Regions from separate parts of the Homo sapiens genome. Here all the other regions are linked to region 1. Evidence: promoter capture Hi-C in 16 types of primary human blood cells and fetal thymus (Javierre and others, 2016). All regions are on one chromosome and are shown on one strand. Each heading gives the region's core, a stretch centred on a gene start or on the middle of the fragment in contact. The rest is flanking DNA. Distances are from core to core; before and after follow the strand shown.

What was found. Contacts are between HindIII fragments. The CHiCAGO score rates a contact against its expected background, and 5 or more counts as called.
Region 2: a fragment that was not itself captured here is called in contact with the fragment with the promoter of OR10T2 in region 1 in 1 of 17 cell types (fetal thymus); the score reaches 8.5 in fetal thymus.
Region 3: a fragment that was not itself captured here is called in contact with the fragment with the promoter of OR10T2 in region 1 in 3 of 17 cell types (fetal thymus, total B cells and naive B cells); the score reaches 16.4 in fetal thymus.

The regions. Positions count from the first base shown.
Region 1 is chr1:158,397,021-158,401,631 of GRCh38, forward strand. It overlaps OR10T2 (olfactory receptor family 10 subfamily T member 2), which reads right to left and starts at 2,446. Exons shown (of 1, transcript NM_001004475.1): 1 at 1,502-2,446. The coding sequence starts at 2,446. The coding sequence ends at 1,502. The HindIII fragment of the contact is 4,820 bases long and covers 1-4,223 here.
Region 2 is chr1:159,020,432-159,025,042 of GRCh38, forward strand. IFI16 (interferon gamma inducible protein 16) reads left to right here. Exons shown (of 12, transcript NM_001376587.1): 6 at 1-98. Among named protein-coding and RNA genes, the nearest start is that of IFI16, 13 kb to the left of the region's middle. The HindIII fragment of the contact is 4,898 bases long and covers 1-4,398 here.
Region 3 is chr1:159,001,555-159,006,165 of GRCh38, forward strand. PYDC5 (pyrin domain containing 5) reads right to left here and starts at 1,197. Exons shown (of 1, transcript NM_001320010.2): 1 at 1-1,197. It also overlaps a transcript of IFI16 not described here. RefSeq lists enhancers at 3,833-4,358, 4,359-4,611. The HindIII fragment of the contact is 4,916 bases long and covers 904-4,611 here.

The DNA.
Region 1 (4,611 bases), core at 1,196-3,695:
ACCCCGTCTCTACAAAAAATACAAAAATTAGCCGGGCATGGTGGTGGGCGCCTGTGGTCCCAGCTACTCGGGAGGCTGAAGCTCGAGAATAGCTTGAATCCGGGAGGTGGAGGCTGCAGTGAGCCAAGATGGAGCCACTGCACTCCAGCCTGGGTGACGGGAGTGAAACCCTGTCTCAAAAGAAATTTACATGTAATTTTTACAGTCATACAAATAATGATATTTCAGCTTTTCATTTGTGAGATGTAACATAATTTTAACAAATCAGCACATTTTAATTCTAGTATGGATTAGTCTCTGGGCAGAACAAGGATCTCATTAACAGTAATTGACTTCCTCAACTAGAATCCAAGCACTGTGAGAATGAGATAGTTCACATATTTACTCAAAAAGAAATCTTAGTTGTCCAGATGAAAAAATTCAAGGCTTATCGGTTTTAATATTTTAAATAACATTTCTTAAACTATGTAGCTTGAAAATGATAGTTTAGATTTAAAATCAATCCTGATCAGTGTTTATAATTCAAATTATATTATTGTAATCAATAAAATGTTAGGTTCTTATAAATATTACACTATGATCATCATAGAGATTATGGCCATTTTTGCCTCTTCAGAGCACTGTGTTCTATTTGATCATCAAGCATGAGGATGTCATTATTGTTTATTTTTAGTCTATTATTAAATAAAATTACATGATCTGAAAGACTTAAACATATAGCTAAGTGAAAACAAAACAAGAACTATAAATAAAAATAATGTTTAACTTATGATTAACATAATAAAAATCTAGAATTATCAACAATTCTGATAATATCGACTAACATTTTTGTCACTGTAAAACCCAGTTTCTTAGTATTAATATCTTGTTCTCCATTTAAGGCCCAGTTTAAATTTTCTCTCCCTTCTTTTCATCCCACTTATTCTAAATCTTTTTCTCTTTCAGATGGAATAAATACTCATTCCTTTGATTCTCATAACTTTTATTTATATTCTTTTAACTGATCTGATTATCTTGCATTATCATATTTTTTTCAGTGTTCATCTTTTCACCTAACCAGTCCCAACCACCATAAACTATACATTTGTTCATTTTAATTTTTCCTCTTTGAATGGGACTTGGTACACAGATGAATGTATTACTAGATGAATGCCTGTGTCCCGGATAAAAATGCTTCCAGCCACTTCAGACTCTGTTCTGTCTCTCCAACTGGAAAAGCAATTCTTGTCCTTATATTTGTTTTGGTTGTGTCTTTCCTTGAAAAACTCTCATGCTTTTCTCTTTTTGCCAAGTGTGAATTCTTTTTTTTTAACTAGACATCGGACAATATAGAGTGTAGATTGACTTGCATTTTTTTTCTTTTTGGAATAGGAGAAAATAAAAAGGCAAGAGTAGTCTTAATCCTTGGAAACACTGTCTGAGACATGCATTAAAGGTCAGAAAATTTTATGCCTTTGATTTCTTCTGTGACTATCCTAGTTAATTTTATTATTATTTTTTGTTAGCTCATCTTGGTTGCCACAGGCATTCCAAGAACTCTTTTCAATGCAGTTTTTACCTCTTTGTTCCTCAGACTGTAGACAAGAGGATTAAGTAAGGGAGTAACCACTGTGTAGGTCACTGCCACCAACTGATCCTTGTCTGAGGCAGACTTGGACTTGGGCCGCAGATAGATGATAGAGGCACAGCCATAGTGGACAAAGACCACAGTGAGATGTGAGGCACAGGTGACAAAGGCCTTCTTGCCCTCAGCTGAGGGGATCTTCAGGATGGTGTTAACTATGAAGCCATAGGATATGAGAATTAACAGAAAAGGCACCATAATTACCAGGATGCTGAGGCTAAATAAAGCCAGCTCTTTCACATGGGTGTCAGTGCAGGCTAACTTGATAACAGGTGCCATGTCACAGAAATAGTGGTTAACCCTGTTGGGGCCACAAAAACGCATGTCACAAATGAGGTTGGTGGCCACCAAAGCAATAAAGAAACCTGTGGCTCCTGAGAGAGAAATCAACTCCAACCCCAGCCTTTTGTTTATGATGAGTGTGTACCTCAGAGGGTGACAAATTGCTACATAGCGATCATATCCCATCACAGCAATGAGGAGGCAGTTGGTGCAAGCAAAGCCAAGGAAAAAGAACAGCTGGGTGGCACAGGCCATGAAGGAGATGGTCTTGGTGTCTGAGAGCAGGTGGACCAGCAGCTGAGGGATGATGACAAAAGTGTAGCAGGACTCAGAAAATGAAAGGATGAATAGAAAGCCATACATGGGAGTGTGGAGAGTCCAGCTGAAGCGAATAACGGCCATGATGGTCACATTGGCCACCAGGATTGTCAAGTATAGGAGAAGAAAGATGACAAAAAGCAGCAGCTGGAGCTCCCCCAGGCTGGAGAAACCCACCAGGATGAACTGTGTAACCACAGTGGTTTTGTTGAAACCTCGCATCTGAAGAACTTCTTTCTGTGAATGTGTTTGAAAGAGACAAAATGATAACTATCTTTGTAATACGAACATTTTCCCAACGCCTTCACTTTAAGTATATTGTCAGATTCATAATGTTAACATCTCTTTCTCTTAGTCTATCTAGATATAGATGCCTCTTTAATGATTTTTCCAAAAAATTATTAATCTGAAGTAACAGAGAAATGATTATCTACAGTATATAAATACCCCAAAGTTAAAAGGATCCAACTATTTGACAAAGTGAAAAAATTCTCTCAGTTTAAGAAGAACATTACCTTTAATATGGAATAGAAAATTTAAATTATTTTTCTTGTACTGTATGTATTTGGTCCTTGGATGTATATTCTATCCTAGTAATTTGGTTTCTTTTCCTAATATCACAATCCATTTAATTAGCATTATTGTAAAGGCATTAAAACACTGTGCCTCAGAGCATGAACTCAGGAACAAGAATGCTAGAGTTTGAAACTTGCCTTTGCCACTTAGAGCTATGAACTTCAGTGTGACAATTTTTGTCATTTGTAAGACATAAATAATAATAGAACATATTATATAGGATTGTTGTAAGAACTTAGATGGTATCAGTAAAGTACTTGAAACAGCACTTAACACATAGTAACTCCAATCTATGTGTCAGCTGCTTATGCAGTTAAGGAGTTGAGAGGCAAATATCCTGGTTTGATATTTGAACACTAGAAGAGCCTGGATCCTTAAATCAGGACAGAGTTTCCCTGCATTTGACTCAAGTGTTCTTATCCTTGAGATTCTTTTTTTAAAATTGAGCAAAAATTTAAATATGCACAGTTAAAGAAAGAACTGTTACTTTTACATTAAAAATTATTTTCTTTTTAATTTATTTTTTATTAGCAACTAATAATTATACCTATTTATGGGGTATTATGTGATGTTTGGATACATGTATACATTGTGGGATGATTAAATCAGGGTTCTTTAATAAATCTGCCCTTTTTTATCTAAGGAGTCTATAGCCTTTGAATTCTCTTTCATGATTCTATGACATTTGTTCTGTATGTTTCTGGAACTGTGAAGGGACCCAAGTGTAAAACCTGGGTCACAAGGTTATGATGTATCTGTCTATGAAACAAAATAGATTGATGATCACTAGGGATAGGGGTGGAGCAGGAAGACTTAGGTTAAGTCTTCTCTCTATTGAAGAAAGGAGAGGAAATAACGTGAACACACCTTGAATCTCTTGCAAATAAAATAGCCAGAAAGTGCTAAATGGAAAGAGAAGAGCCTATCTCAGGAACTTCCCATTATTTTATAGTCTAGGTTATTCCTCCTCCCAGAGCCCTAATCATTTTTACTTTCAGAATCAGCTTCAGAGATTCAGGAGAAACCAGATGTAATATTTGCACAACTCAACATCTCCCAACTTGTTGGCTACTTTAATGGCTATAAGATGTTAGGAGTTGTTTGACATGACACACTTGAGTTTGTTCATTGTTCATCATCTCTGTTGTGGTTTATTTGCTTAGGTAGTTCCACACACCTGCTACAACAGCTTTTTCCTTTGTTTCAGACCTTGCGGAAAATAAGATGCTTTCATGTAAGCTACTTCATTTTGACTCTAACATCCTGGTAGATAGCAAAAGTGTCTGTCGCTATCTCACGGGTAAGGCAAGTGTACTAAGTGCCCTCTCCTGGGCAGAGTAACCCATGAACATCCTCATCCTTGCATTTAACATGTTGCATTGAACATACCTCTTTATATATTTGGCACTCTTTATAGATTATAAGCTTCTCACATGCAGGAATAACTTTTTTTAATTAAAAAATGAGTCCCTAGAATATAGCATAGTTTGTGATTTATCATGTGCTCAAATATTTTGACTTGATTAGAATGTCAAAAATTAAATAATATGCTCAAGTGGTAGATCCAGTATCAGAATTCAAGTCTTCTAACTTCAAATCCACTTTCTACTTACCAAATTTTATGGCACCCATTCTTTACCTTGTGAGAAGATGATCTGCTCATATACTTTTTCCAAGGGATGAAAGCATAGTTCCACACTGCTTGTTCAAGTAAAACTTATTTGAACATTTCTGACTTTTCTGGAATAATCCAATTTTAATTATCCAAGTTTTTGAATTATCAAATTTTACAATATGAGCTTTATTCTCTT
Region 2 (4,611 bases), core at 700-3,199, 620 kb after region 1:
CCTGTGAAGAAGGAGATAAGCTCCAACTTTTCTGCTTTCGACTTAGAAAAAAGAACCAGATGTCAAAACTGATTTCAGAAATGCATAGTTTTATCCAGGTAAGAATTAAATAGGCAAATATTAGTTTTCCAAAGTGGAAATGATTTGCTTTAAGTTTTGGCAAAAACAAGTTTGTAGGTTTTTTTTACAGAGTTCAGCGGGAGGCATGAGAAAACAGATATTCTCCTTGTATTCACATTTACTTTTTTTAATTTTTTTTTTCTGGATGGAATGATGTGATAGGATACAATTTTAAAAAGAAAGAAATCTGAACTTTATCAAAAAAATTGAACTCTGAATTTTATGTAAACTTTTAAGTGATTGTAGGGTTGGGATTTAAAATTACATGTTCTCCATTTGTGAATTAGAAAACGTCGTGTGTGTGTGTGTGTGTGTGTGTGATACTTTCTAGTTTGTAACATTACAATACACATATGTGTGTATTTAGTCCATAAAAATACCTAATTTGAAACTTAAAATTATTTGCAGTGATCAAAATTATGTCCCACTGACAAAGTTTTATACAGAGGAAGCTCTCCAATTTGTTAATTTGAATTCAAATATTCACGTGTTAAGTTTCCTTACAGTACATGATTTTACGCTGTTGCCATTTTGAATGTTGTAAATTATTTTTTATTTCAGTAGGTTTTTGGGAAACAGGTGGTGCTTCGTTATAGGAATAAGTTCTTTAGTGGTGATTTCTGACTTTTTGATGCACCCATCGTCCAAGCAGCGTACACTGTACCCAGTGTGTATGTAGCATTTTATCCCTCACCCCCCTCCCACTCTTTCCCCTGAGTCCCCAAAGTCCATTGTATCATTCTTATGCCTTTGTGTCCTCATAGCTTACCTCCCACTTATGAGTGAGAACATACAATGTTTGGTTTTCCTCTCCTGAGTTACTTCACTTAGAATAATGGTCTCCAATTCCATCCGGGTTGCTGTGAATGCCGTTATTTTGTTCCTTTTTATGGATGAGTAATAGTATTCCACGGTGTATACATACCCCATTTCTTTATCCATTTGTTTACTGATGGGCATCTGGGCTGGTTCCATATTTTTGCAGTTGTGAATTGTGCTGCTGTAAACATGCATGTGCAATGATCTTTTTTTGTATACTGACTTCTTTTCCTCTGGGTAGATACCCAGTAGTGGGATTGCTGGATCAAATGGTAGATCTGCTTTTTAGTTCTTTAAGGAATCTATACACTGTTTACTATAGTAGTTCTACTAGTTTACATTCCCACCAGCGGTGTAGAAGTGTTCCTTTTCACCACATCGATGCCAGCGTCTGTTTTTTAAAATTTTTTGATTATGGCCATTCTTGCACGAGTAATGTGGCATCATTTTGTGGTTTTGATTTGCATTTCCCTGATCATTAGTGATGTTGAGCGTTTTTCCTTATGCTTGTTGGCCATTTACATATCTTCTTTTGAGAATTGTCTATTCATGTCCTTAGCCCTTAGCCCTTTTTTTTTTTTTTTTTTTTTTTTTTTTTTTTTTTTTTTTTTGAGACAGAGTCTTGCTCTTTTGCCCAGGCGGGAGTGCAGTGGCGCTATCTCGGCTTACTGCAAGCTCCGCCTCCCGGGTTCACGCCATTCTCCTGCCTCAGCCTCCAGAGTAGCTGGGACTACAGGCGCCCGCCACCGCCCCCGGCTAAATTTTTTGTATTTTTAGTAGAGACGGGGTTTCACCGTGTTAGCCAGGTTGGTCTCGATTTCCTGACCTCGTGATCCGCCCGCCTCGGCCTCCCAAAGTGCTGGGATTACAGGCGTGAGCCACCGTGCCCGGCCCTTAGCCCACTTTTTGATGGGATTATTTGTATGTGCAATGCTTGTTCCCTGGTGCCATAAATAAATAGCATTTGAATATCAATTTAATTTTTTCAGCAAGGCCATTTTTATACTTTTTGTAGAAAGGGTACACTCGCCAGCAGTTTTGCCACAAGAGTATACGGAACAAAGGAGACAGGCTCATTTATAATCTGACGCGGCCACCCTCCTGCTGCGTTCGGTTTCCATTGGCTGGGACGGGACCTCACCTTCTGTATTTGTCCCGACTGGCTAGCACTTAGAACTTTTTAAAAGAGGCAAAGGCATAGGAGAACAAAGGAAGGAGGAAGTAACTTGTGGAATATTGAGAAAGGTAAAAACACCTTTAAATAAGGAAGAGGAACAGGCTATGACCTAATGCTTGCTTGGATCAGTATAAGCATGTTAGGGCAAATATTTAGGCTAAATTGTGGGAGCTAAGAACATAAAGTATATTGATTTTTTATTATGGCTAGCAGATATTTAAGAATGTTTGTACAGGTCTTTGAATAAATTTTGCTTTTAAGAGAAGTTACTATTTATTTCTAATTAGATGGGGAGGAAAGTTTTTGAAGAGGAACCTCTACTTTTTACAATTTCCCCTCATTTCATAATTCTTCTTTAAACTTGTTTAATATGTTTTGACTTAATTTTTTTTTGTCCTTTTAAGAGAAGTAATTTTTCAGAATAGGGTGGAGGAGAATTAGGAGTTAACTCTGCAAGAGTGGCAGAGATAAGTTTTTGTATAAAATTTCAAAGGCAGGGAATAATATAACAGCCTACAAGAATAAGTACACCAATAACAAGAGCAAACGAGGTGAGAATTGAAGTTAAATTTTTTTTTTATCCGCTGAACCAATGTTTTATTATTTTAGAAAAAGAGTTATTTATTTTAGAATTGTTGGCAAGTTTATCGGATAGGGCTGTTAATCCTTGTAGCACTTTTGTTATAGTTCTATCAGGGGCAGTATTAGGAATAAAGGTATAACATTGAGTTTTAATTATGACACAAACTTCTTTTTTTGCTAATATTATATTTAAAGCTATTTTATTTTTCTAGACCATCTGGCTGGTAGGTCCTAATTGCTTAGCTTTCTCTTTGATGGCGTCCTCAGTGTAATTTATGAATCGTTGCTGATTATAGTAGATATAGTTTATTTAGTCTACTTAAAAAAAATTTATAGTTACTTAACAGAGCAACATGGATTTAAACTCTGCAGCTATTTGATTTTGTGCTTTAAACTTATTTGGCACTTCTCATAGGACCTTAATAGCATTTATGTAAACCTAACGTTTAAAGGACTCATGAGGAGTTTCCTTTGGCCTGCAGTGTCTTGTTTTTACCTTTTTTTTTTTAGGTTGGTGAAATGCCAGGGTGCAGGGGATAGCCAGTTGGATTAGAGCATAAGTACTGCTCCAATTATTTGGCAGAGTGTCTAGTAAAAGTCCTCTACAATATCACCATACATTTGCTTGGGGATGGCTAAGCGTGGACTGATGGGCAAGCTCTTGGAAAGGCTTGAGCTCCTTGCATCCTTTTATGCTTCTAAGGAACACCAAATTTTACTCTTGCCGTGAGAGGCACAAAGTAAACTTGGCATTCAGAGGTGGAAGCAGGCTTGCCCTCGGGGGCGGACCCCCGGGGTATTGAGTTTCAGGAAATAACAGATAGAGAGCTCAGCATGATGGATTATCCTAAACTGTGGGATTTTGCAAGAGAGCCACCATATGTCCATTTCTGGTCAATGAGGAGACCGTCCGAGTGGAAAGGGGATAATCTGGCCCTCTGGGCTACCATGCGTACAAGCGTGATAATAATTTTTATTTAAAGTGCGAAGGGAATATTTAATTCATTCCAGCCAGGCATTTGCATCTTGATATTTTGTCTTAATGGCTAAGGTCTGTCTTAGATGTCTTATTTTTACAATAGACAACCTAGTTTTATTATTAGATGTAGGGGCAACTGGTGTGGGATCTAGAACCGAGGCTACTGAAGAAGGGGAAGATGGGGGAATAATGCGTGTTTTAAAAACACCTAGGGGGTCTTTTTCATTTATGTCAATCCCCATGCCATCTAAGCGACCAAGGGCAGGTCTAGAGTTAGTTAAGGTGGAGGTGGTGATAAAGAGAAGGACAGAGTTACATTGATAAGGGCTGACAGTTAGAAGGGGTAGCCCTTTTGGTGAAATAGATGAAGGGTTTTAGATCTGCACAAACCTTTTTTGTGGAAGTCTAACTTTGCTCTTGAGTAGTTTAAAGGATGTAGTCCCATTTACTACAAGGTTGCCAGGCTGTAGGAGCAGAAAATCGATGCCTTGGCTGCAGGTGCTCACAATGATGAGTGCTACGGGTAATTGTGTCAATTAGAGGGCCGGGACATAAATATTTGTGTGAAAAGGCTAGCTGTCGTTAATCTTTTTTTATTTCCACAAAGTATGAGAAAACAAGCATTAAAGACAATGGTCTAAGGTGAGTTAGACTTAGTTATATTTATAACAAAGGAGCTAATAACAAAAGAAAAAAATATATAAAAGATGTATTAAAATGAAGCTTTCTTTAACTTAGAAGGGCTTAATCTTAGTACAGTAACCCATAATTCTAACGAAGAAGATGTTTTCTTGACTCAAATATGATGGGTCCATTCTTTCTCAGCTGTGCGGACGGCGGTCTCAGTGGTTAATACATAAAATAGGGTCCTTCCCAGGCTCGAGTTTTTTTTTTTAATCTTTTTTCATCTTTTAATAAGAACATGGTTTTCAGG
Region 3 (4,611 bases), core at 2,112-4,611, 610 kb after region 1:
ATACTTAAAATGATTAAACTACATGAACGCCCCTGTCTTACCAGTGAAAGAAAAGAAGGAAATTTGCATTTCCTGAGCATCTATTATATGCTAAACACAGTCAACTCAGCATGTTTCCCTACTTATCTATAAGAATGCAACCCTCCTACAACCCTATTACGTGCTAACATTCACATATCAATAACAATTTATATATAAGAAAATTAAGACACCTTTTATCACATAAATATAAAATTTACATTTTACTCCATGATATCTGTTTACTTAAAACATATTTTAAAGTATTTGCTATAGGGTAAAATGTATACCCAAAGAAAATGCAGACAATTGATTTGGTGGCTTCATGTCCCAGGGGTGTACACACTGTAGTTGAGAAGTATGGTCCTGTACCATGCATAATAGCTGACACTGGGTAGCAACTTACTGTGTACAAAGTGCTTTCACATGAAGCCTGGAAGACACAAAGAAAAGAAAATGTTGAGGGAGCATATAATCATCTCTGAATGGGGATGATAATTCCTATCTCCAGGTTGTAAATACACAGTATGGTATGCCTGATACAAAACAGCTGGCATTTATTATAGTCTCTCAATTGTTACATTTTAAATTAGGTGGCATGAGTTACCTGGAACCAAACAGCTAGTAAAAGACAGTACATATTACTGAATTCAAGTCTTCTGAATCCAGGAGCTCTGCTTTTTCTTATGCCAACAGCCTGCTTATCATACAGAGAGTATGGAATGATTCTCTGTTTAAAAAAATTAAAAAAGAAAGAAAAAAAAAACTAGTGTTATTTGCTTCGAAAACACCAACCCTCAGATATATAGTAGTGTTATAATTGAAGCATTAGCAATTATTTTCTTTGTCAAATCATTTATTTCTTTTCAACCAGAATATTGGCAAAGCTTGCTCCTTCACTCTGTTCAGATTTCTGCTTGTTTTTTTCTAAGCTCATCCTTCAATGAACACATGCTGCAAAATAGCACGATACCGTTACTATTACCTCATACCATTTGTATTTCTTCATAGAATTTATCTGCTTGTAATATATAAGCATTATATTATATATGACATTATAGTATAAATGCTGTTGCTATTTGTTTATTCTTTAATGGCCAGCCTGCTGAAATAGAAGTGCCTTGTGGTCAAGCATTTGTGTGCTGTTTATTGCTGTACTCCTACCACCTAGAGTAGTAGGTCCTCAATAAACATTTGTTAAATAAACATATGTTGAATCAACTGTCTAGGCATCCCATCTAAGACTTCAGCCCTGGGAATCTCTACTTCCTAGGCTCTATTCATCCATATGGCTTGATTACTCAAGAGCCAGAGTTACCTGAGAATGCACAGAGCAAATGTCCTCACTGCACATTCTTGAAGAGGGATGTTCAAGCCAGAAATAGCATAGATAAAAAACAAAATTATAATCAAACCATATCTATCTACTTGTAGAATGATTTCAAAAGACAGCAAGGTTAAGAAGGCTTTTCAAAATCCAAGGCATTATGCCAAATATATAACATATATTTAATAAAAGTGGAAAATTTGGAAACTTCCATCTCTGGTGGGAGTAATCCAACTTCCTATGGTTCCACTGTGCAAGATACCCTAGATTCTAAGAAGGAAGTAAAACATGGTGTATTGCAGGGAAACTTCAAGTAATTGAATTTGTGTGAACTTTCAGACTAAGCTGATAGAAAATCGCATGGTTTATTTTAATGTTTCTGCTATTAGTTATTTTTTCACGATAATTTAACTGGTGAATCCAGTTATCTATTTAGACAATAGATGTATTTTTATTCTGGCTATGTCATAATATTCTGCAATTACAAAATCACATAACACTTAAATTACTGCCGTAAAGCTAAGAAGAAATAACTTGCCATATTCCAAATTCCTAAAGGAGCTCGATCTCTGTTACCTAAGCAATCCCTCCTCTGTTTTGCTCTTTTGTGATTCTTAGGCTGGAATCACGTTTTGGCTCTATCAGCCTAAGGAGCAGTTAGCCACCTGTCACTGAGTTAGGGAACAAAAAGACCAAGGCGATAGGTATTTGCACCATAAACTTCTCCTATCTTGTATGTCCATAATTCTGTATTATTATTATTATTATTATTATGTTTTGAGACGGGGTCTCGCTTTGTCGCCCAGGCTGGAGTGCAGTGGCATGAGCTCGGCTCGCTGCAAGCTCCGCCTCCTGGGTTCACACCATTCTCCTGCCTCAGCCTCCCGAGTAGCTGGGACTATAGGCGCCCGCCACCATGCCCAGCTAATTTTTTGTATTTTTAGTAGAGACGGGGTTTCACTGTGTTAGCCAGGATGGTCTCGATCTCCTGACCTTGTGATCCGCCCGCCTCAGCCTCCCAAAGTGCTGGGATTACAGGCGTGAGCCACCGCGCCCAGCCAATTCTGTATTATTTTGCATTTCTGACACTCATGACTTGATACCTTAAACATTCAAACACATAGAAGCACTTATTTGTGTGAACAGCAGTTTCTTTCCTTGAACCAAAGATTGTCAACCCTTAATCTAAAACATAAAAGGAAATAAAATTCAAACACCACTTCTCCATTACTTGTAAATTTTATTTCTCTCTTCTTAATATATTAATACCCAAATTCCAGCCAAAATATTAAGGATGGATGTGGTGGCTTATGCCTGTAATCCCAGCACTTTGGGAGGCTGAGGTAGGTAGATTGTTTGAGCTCTGGAGTTTGAGATCAGCCTGGGCAACATGGCAAGACCTTATCTCCAAAAGAAAAAAAAAAGGTTAAGAAATCTAAATTTCAGTTAATTTTGCCCTTATTGCTAAGTAAATCTGAGTAAATTATAGATGTTAGTAATTTGGGGTAAGAATTCCCAAAACCAGCCGGGCATCGTGACTCACGCCTCTAATCCCAGCACTTTGGGAGGCCGAGGTGGGTGGGTCACTTGAGATCAGGAGTTTGAGACCAGCCTGGCCAGCATGGTGAAACCTTGTCTTTACTGAAAATACAGAAATTAGCCAGGCTTGATGGTGCATGCGTGTAATTCTGGCTACTTAGGAGGCTGAAGCAGGAGAATCACTTGAACCTGGGAGGCAGAGGTTGCAATGAGCCGAGATCGTGCCATCACAACAGAGCAAGACTCCGTCTCAAAAGAAAAAAAATTCCCAAAACCAGATGTTTAGGGTGGAGAGTTCATTACTGACAACAGTAGAGAATCTCATCTTCAATTTTAGAGATAAATTATATCAAGGGAAATTTTGACAGCCAAAGTGAAGTCCTGAAATTAAACAGAGTAAAGAAATTATCAATCTAGTAAAGATCCTCAAAGAATGCTTTCTGGAGAACAGTTTTAGATAAAATAAGCAAATAAAGAATGAAGATAGCAGAGATAAAGCCGGAGAAGTAGAAACTATCAATGTTTTTACCCCCTTCAAAAATAATGTTGAAACTTAGTACCCAATGCAACAGTGTTGGGAGCTTGGGCCAAATGGGAGGTATTTAGATCATGAGAATTTCACTCACGTAAATAGACTGATTAATGCCACTCTAACGGGCATGTAGGGGGTGAATTCGCCCCGTTTGTCATGTGAGGACACAGCAAGAAGGCCTCACCAGATACTGATGCTTGACCTTGGACTTCCACCTCAAGTACTGTGAGAAATACATTTCTGTTCTGTATAAATTACCCAGTCTATAGTATTCCATTACAGCAGCACTAAATGGACTAAGACAGTGGGAAAGTATGCATGTCCATTACAGGGAGGGTCAGAGAACAGGAGTTTTCATGAACCAGAAACTTCTTTCACTCATATTTTCTCCATGAGACATGCAATAAACAGATGAATGATGCCAACTCTGGCCTTGTACAGTATATCATGACTGGTTCACATCACTCCCCAGGTTTCCATATGCATTCACTCTCCTCTCCTGCCTCAACACTGAGTCTCTTTTATTCCACTCCAAAGTAAAGAGGTCATCCCTAGAACTACAGAAGCTCTTTCTGCCAACAGAGTTGTCTGGAGTTTATGGCATTAGCTTTGAGCAACAGGAAAAGTAGAATACAAAACTGCAATACAGAAACTACAAAATTTCAAGGAAGGACTGGCTGAGAGAAGCCTTGAGGTTGGAGGGGAAGGAATGGCATTGTTGTGAAAACGTGTTCTGGGAACTGAGCTTAAATTGAATTGTAGGAGGCTGCAGTCCCACTGGAAAATGCATACTGGCACCAAGATGACTGCTGCTTCCAGGAACATCCTCCCACTCCTTAGCAATGTGGAACAGATTGAAGGAAGCTCAAACAATCCATTTAAGCAGGAAGTAAATAGATTAAGAGAGCAACCAGATGGCCTAAGGCACTATCGGTATAGCTATCCCCACCCCTCAGCGCCCCCATCAGCTTTTCCTTCCTTGTTTCTTCTCACTGTCTGAAAGACTACTCAGGCGTGCACTGCGAGGTGGAGATCTGACTTCTCTTGTTCCCGCTTAAGACTGCCTCCTGTGTAAGTTTCTGCTATCTAGATCTTTGACTACCAACCAGCCAGGAGTGGTCTGCCTCTTCTTTGGTCTGAGCTTGCCTTGTGCTTATATTGTTGTACCCAAGCGAGTTAAGAAAATACCCCACAC